Linked DNA regions of Homo sapiens: region 1 is linked to region 2. Evidence: promoter capture Hi-C in 16 types of primary human blood cells and fetal thymus (Javierre and others, 2016). All regions are on one chromosome and are shown on one strand. Each heading gives the region's core, a stretch centred on a gene start or on the middle of the fragment in contact. The rest is flanking DNA. Distances are from core to core; before and after follow the strand shown. Region 1 overlaps PDHX (pyruvate dehydrogenase complex component X). Region 2 holds the start of COMMD9 (COMM domain containing 9).

Evidence for each region. Contacts are between HindIII fragments. The CHiCAGO score rates a contact against its expected background, and 5 or more counts as called.
Region 1: a contact is called between a fragment that was not itself captured here and the fragment with the promoter of COMMD9 in region 2, in 1 of 17 cell types (naive B cells). The highest score is 6.7, in naive B cells.

What each region holds. Positions count from the first base shown.
Region 1 is chr11:34,926,117-34,929,428 of GRCh38, reverse strand. All of the region lies in intron 1 of PDHX (pyruvate dehydrogenase complex component X), which reads right to left. Among named protein-coding and RNA genes, the nearest start is that of PDHX, 11 kb to the right of the region's middle. The HindIII fragment of the contact is 1,952 bases long and covers 753-2,704 here.
Region 2 is chr11:36,287,790-36,291,352 of GRCh38, reverse strand. COMMD9 (COMM domain containing 9) reads left to right here and starts at 1,929. Exons shown (of 6, transcript NM_014186.4): 1 at 1,929-1,991. The coding sequence starts at 1,941. RefSeq lists enhancers at 1,779-2,028, 1,865-2,567. The HindIII fragment of the contact is 8,947 bases long and covers 1,612-3,563 here.

The DNA.
Region 1 (3,312 bases), core at 479-2,978, 1.4 Mb after region 2:
GGCGAAACCCCACTCTATTAAAATTTAAAAATTAGCCAGGCGTGATGGCACACGCCTGTAATCCCAGCTATTTGGGGGGCTGAGGCATGAGAATCACTCGAATCTGGGAGGAGATGGTTGCAGTGAGCCAAGATCACTGCACTCCAGCATGGGCAACAGACCAAGACTCTGCCTGAGAAAAACAAAACAAAAATACCACTTTTACTACTGACAATGAATATTTCAAATGCATAAGAGAACAGGTTATCTCTAAGTGCATTATATATGAAAAACAGGAGGAAAAATAGCCACAATGAGTTTCCTAACTCCTAATTACGAAACACCGTTATTTTGGAAGACACTGAAGAACAAAGCCATCCAACTCCAGTCCACCATGACTCTCAATAACTGTAGCTGAAACAGTTTCACTGAATTCCCAAGCTACCTCTAGTTGAAATGCTAAATTATAACTAGAAGATAGCTTTCAAAATCTTTGCATTTTTTACTTAGTAAAATAAGTCCTTGTGATTAAAATATTAAATAGGTAAAAAATAATGCAAACTACTAAATACAACCATAATGTTTTGTCTATAAAATGCTGGAGAACTAAATTCTTGAGTGAACTAAAATTAGGGAAGTGCACTTGGAAAACACACATACACACATACTCTCTTACACACAGGAAAACTTATAACATTAGTGATGCATCTCCAAATCCAAACCATAACAATCCTACACTTAATTGCAAGAATTCTTAAAACGTGCATAAAGCTTAACACACTGAATGCATTTGGAGATAACAGAATGAGCTTTCTAATCCTCTACACTATGTGGTGTGTCTACTGCCTTTTTCTTTTTTACATGGCTTGATGAAAAAATCAAAAACAGTTGCTTAAAGAATGTACTGTCAGCCTGAGCCTCAGCATTTATTTTGTTAAGCTCAGAATAACAAACTCACTTGTTCTGGGGAAAAAAAAAAAAAAGGAGGGGGGTGGGCAAAAAAAAACTCTTATCTTTTAAATAGCACCACGGTAAGAGGCCAGCCTCTTTTCGAAAACAAAGGCTTAAAAAAAAAAAAGTCCCAATGTGTTCTTTCTATCAAAAAGTTCAAGCCAGGCATTATGAACAGAATATTTCATAAATATATACATATTACATTTATATATCAAAGAGTTCCATTTCAAAGAAGCAACTAAATGGACCTCAATGCTTCTATAGCCAGATTCCAATTTACGACAAATACTAACTTAATTCTCTTAAAGTCTCTCTCCAATATTTGTATGCTTTGGTTCCAGTTGTCACGACACAATTCACATTTATTTTATGATTCTATCTCCTGCTATAATCTCTCACCTAAGAGACCTTCACATTTCCATTACTCTTGACATTAAGGACTATATTATGAAACCTCTGCATTTATTATTATCTTTCAAGTTACCACATCAAGAACCTCAAAAATTTTCATATTTTAAAAATAAAAAGAACATAATCGTTCCTTAGTCACCCTTCATGAAATGAATTGAAATTGCTTATCTGAATTATGATAATACAAAAATTCTGTAGTAGATCATTATCTTTACTCTGAAATGAAGGTGACAAAAACCAAAGAAAGATATTTTGGACATCTCCATTATTCAATACTATCTCTTGATAGATTACACTCGCTTATTACGGAGAGTTAAATGTGCAATATATTTTGTAGTTATTCTAACTAATCTATCCTCAGGCTTTCATGCTAGAAAAATCATTTCATAAGCATTAATGTGTTAATAAAAGTACATATTTCATTCTAGCATACCCTCTTTTGATTAGAACACTATATGGTATCTTTTCCAGACGTATTTTTCTGATGGGAAAGTAATTACACAATCGTAAGATAAACTTGAAGTGACAGGCCTGCACATAATTAATATCTGCCCTTTATGGCTGCTGTCAACTCTACTAAGATAGTGTAGACTTTTCTAGACTCCTTGGAATGGAATTTTATCCTTTACCTAATATTAATTAATTTGCATTTGAACTTATATGCAGACTCCCTCCTTATTCCAGTAAGCTGTACATTCTACCATTCTCTTGTCAAATTAAGAAGGCCTTAAGATATGCACCAATTACGTTTCCTAGTATTAGTTTCCCACAACTACAGGTAAGTAGTTTGCTGCACTCATTACACAAGTTTTTCAATTAGTATTCACAAAGTTCTCAAAATTTAGTTAAAATTTAACGTTTTGTAGTCACTTCAGTGTTCTGCTCCTTCTTATAAAGCTAGCAAATTATATCTAATTGGCTTGTGAAGTCTACCCTTCCACAGCAGTTACAAAACATTTTTAAAAATTTTTAAATGACTATTGTAATGTATGTGGTCCAGTACTTTATATTTAAACTTGCTGATTTTAAAAGTAAAGTCTCATGACTCATAACTATTTTACTCTTTTTTTACATCAACAGAATGACACAATACATTAAAATTTTTTGCTTAGCTTATTGCTGTTTTCCCTGCCATTTCTGCTACATGAGCAATTTACCAATCACTGAATTTTACAGTAATCCCTCTAAGCAATTCCTGTATTTCCTCAAATGGGCTCTTCCAATTTTTCTACAGCATAATTCTGACTTCAATTTCAAATATGGTACACTAATCTAATTCTAGTTTCTTCTTCCCTAAAGTATTTCTTTTATCCTAAGAACAAAATGCTCATACTTCAGCAAACTCAATTATATCAAAGCTTTAAATTGATGATTGATTCATGAATGCTAAAAGGTCTCTAGATTAAAAAAAAAATTTAATACAAGCAAACTCTTAAAATACAAATGCAGAACAAACTGCTTTATGGTTAATATGAAGCAGATTTAAGCTCCATTACTCTGACTAAAGTAATTAAGGGAATTCAGCAGTTTACATATGGTACAGCTTAAACATCATGCTCTAGTTCATTTATAGGCTCTAGTTCATTTATAATCCAAGCATGCAAAAATCATGAAATGAAGATAGACCAAATGAAAAAGTAAATTATCCAGTACTTTCTTAGTGTGGCTCCCTGTCTCTAACATTAATTTGCTTCTTCTCTAATAGGGAGAGAGACTGTTCATTTAATCACTTCTCATTCCAATGTCAGAACACACTAAATAAAACGGAGCCTTCAAAATTGCTGTTCAAATGAAACAATTCTGCCATCTGCAGGCTGGATGAAATAAGGCAGAATAAAGTAAAAGTAATTTAAAAATCAGCACTAGGCACAGAGTAATATTAACACTTGGAATAAAGGCAGTTATAGTATTTTTTGTTTTAAAGGATCGTTTGTCATATAAGTCTTCTTTGTTCAAATAGTTATTTTG
Region 2 (3,563 bases), core at 680-3,179:
AAAACAACAAACATTGATAATCTTAATAGTGTTTGAAGGCCAGAAATCCAGGCGTGGCTTCGCTGGGTGGTGCTGGCTCAGAATCTCTCATGAGGTTGCAGTTAAGCTGTTGGCCAAGACTCCTGCCTTCTTAAGGCTCTACTGGGCCTAGACAATCTGCTTCTCAGGTCAGTAATGAAGTTGTTGGCCAGATGCTTCAGTTCCTTGTCACCTAGGCCTCTCTGTAGGACTGTTTACAACATGGCAGTTTGCTTTCCCCAGAGCAAAGGATTCAAGTGAAAGAGAGCAGGGCACATGAGAGAGCACCCAAGCCAGGAGACAGGAACTTCAGTCTTTTTGTTAGTTTTTTGGTGCAGTCTTGTATAACCTAATCTCAGAAGTGATATGCCATTCACACCCACCATTTGCTATTGGTCATGCATACCAATCCTGGTACATGGTGGGAGGTGTCTACACTAGGTTGTGAACACCAGGAGGCTGGGATCATTGAGGGCCATCTTGAAGGCTGGTGACCACACTCCTCATTACTCTAAAGTAAGACAAGAAGGCACAATCCTGCAAATACCAAGGCAATATCCTCAAATAAGTCACAAAATTTCATCTTAGTCTAATCACTTTTTTGGGTGGTTGTTTATTTAACAAATATTCAATTAACCCAAGACAATGGGCCCAGCCCTATAGATACAGGCAGGAGTTAAACCTAGAACCTACATTGAGTTATAACAGAAACCAGGAATCAGGCCATGAGGGTTCATGGAAAAGAGAGGCCAAGAAAGAGAGCTAGAATCAGGACCCTGTGACAAAATGGTTCTAAAATCTTCTAATCCAGGAATGGGTTCCTCCTTAGACAATTTGATTTTTGGTTTCCTGGGCCTTGACAACATCCCCACAGAAAATGGAGTCGGGGAAGGGGAAGGGGGAGGAGAGGAGACAAAGGAACAAATGTCCTTAGCAGCTTACCAATTTCTGGAATTTCACAAATGGGCATTCTTTCTTAAGCTCGAATATATCAGAACCCATTTTTTGAGCTGGAATTTGCTTAAAAAAAAGTGGAGGGTAGGAAAAGAAAAGAGCCACCCAAATACTAAAGGTAGATAAAGGAAATGTCTGTTTTGATGTACGGTCTCTGAGAACAGGGCAAATCAGAGTCCAGTACTGCCAGTGCAAAATCACTCTTTACAATTATATTCATTATAATTACCTTTTTGAATAAATGAACTAAATCATTTCCATTAACCTCCTCCCCCATCTCACCCCCGTATAACAAGAACCTAGCTAGGTAGTAGCTTTCATTCCATTCCTCTCTTGTCCCCTCTCCCAAACACTTCCTCACCTGCTCTTGTAATCAGATCTTCTCTATGACTATGGGAAAGTTACTAAAAACCCTAAATGATTATTTCCCAATCTGGATAATACTAATAATACCAGCTCCAACCTACTACATAGGCTGAAAAACTATATACGCAGAAGTAATTTTACATTCAAGACAGGATGTGTGCATGTGTGTGTGTCAATTCCAAGAAGCCCGATATGCACAGCCTCATTTTCATTCCAAACACTGGTACGCCGATCACTCCTGAACAACTACGTTTCCAAGGCGCCTGCCAAGCTTGCAGGTGCATTCCCCAAGTGCGCCAGCCCACCCACATGGGTCAAGGGAAAACCTGTTTCCCTGACTTGGTAAGTAGACAAGTCAAGCCAATTTCCTCCCCGAGTAAACCATCCTCCGCCCTGGTCCCCCTAGTCCTTTGGTTCTAGAGTCTCGGGGTTTAGTCATCCAGCCGCCGCGTCCGTCTTGATCCGCGCTCACTGCCGCAGCACCACAACCGAAACGCCTTCCCCCACTCTGAAGGACTACAGCCCCCGGCAGGCCCCGCGACAACAGCGACAGCCACGTGACCTCGCTTCCCTGGGTGCCACGGTCATGTGACTTCGGCAAGATGGCTGCCCTGACAGCGGAGCATTTTGCAGCACTCCAGAGCCTGCTCAAGGTAAGTCGAAGGGGTGGGGACAGCGTGAGGTGGCCCTTTGTCTCCGAGACTTTAGACGGAGCAGGAATTGGGAACAAATTGACCCTGGTTTGGAGCCACAACTCTGCTGCTTGTTCTCTGTGTGATCCCAGGCAAATCGTTGCGTCTTTCTGAGCTTTTAAAAAGTAAGAACAAAATATCGTTTTGACAGGAACGTAAGATAAAAAAAAATAAAATAATGGGCATGAAGGCGCAGTACAACCTCCTGCTATTAGTCTTTGGGATTGGTTTTCGGTATTGGTGCATTGAAGTGGTAATTGCTAGACCCACGTTGTCAGTTCCCCATTTCATCCCGTAGCCCCTCCTGCATTGCACAATTAAGAAATTATCTCCTACTGCGTCTGCCCAGCCCTCCGAATGACCTGTGCGTTCAATGTTCCCTTGAGGTCCAGATTTTCCCTACTCTCTTTGACCTGCGAAAGGGGCAGGACATACTCCTGATAATCATTTGAAAAGTTGTGAGGTTGAAAGGGACCTACTTCATAGGGCTTTGTAAAGCTCAAATGAAGTATTATTATTATTTGAGACGGAGTCTAGCTCTGTTGTCCAGGCTGGAGAGCAGTGGCGCAATCTCGGCTCACTGCAACCTCCGCCCCCCGAGTTCAAGCAATTCTATGCCTCAGCCTTCCGAGTAGCTGGGATTACAGGCGCCCGCCACCAAGCCTGGCAAATTTATGTATTTTTAGTAGAGACGGGGTTTCAACATCTTGGCCAGGCTGGTCTTGAACTCCTGACCGCGTGATCCACTCGCCTCCGCCTTCCAAAGTGTTGGGATTACAGGCGTGAGCCACCGCGCCTGGCCGGAATTATTTAACTTATGATTTGCCCTGTAGGAGAAAGGGCAGCTTTATTTTCCTTCGTAGAACTTGTCGCTAGCTATTTGCCCGTTGTCCGTCTGTCTCATAAGAATGTAAGATCCATCAGGGACCTTTCCTTTCTTCCTCTCTCTTTTTTTTTTTTTTTAAACACCAGGTGAAGAGGGTTGAGTTACTCTCCTCAATTTATGGCACATCATCATCATCGGTCCATGTAATAGTCTCTGTTTTGTTTTACTTATTTATTTTTTAATTGCCTTCTCAGTGTTCATTAGCATTCTCCACTCCTAAGGGGATCTACTCTTTTGTTCACAAGTGTTAATGCCCAATAAGTAGAACAATAATACCTGGCACACAGCACGTGCTCAGTAAATAGCTGTTAAATGAATTAATAAATGAAGTAACAGAGCTGGGACTGGCAATCTAGGGCTCTCAGCTCCCAACCCAGTGCCTTTTCACCTTCATTTTGGCTGCTCTGTACCTACCCCCGCCCCTATACCTGTTGGTCTTATGCACTCTTTTCTTTTAAAAACTTTAAAAGATTAGTGTGTAGTATACATACAGAAAAGTGCATAAACCATACATTTACAGTTAAATGATTTATTACACACCAATGTAACCACCACCAAAGTCAAAAAATGAAATGTTACCAGTACCCCAGAAGTCCCCCTTTCGCCCTTTCTTTGCTTCCTCACTTTCTTCCCCAATGGTAACCTCT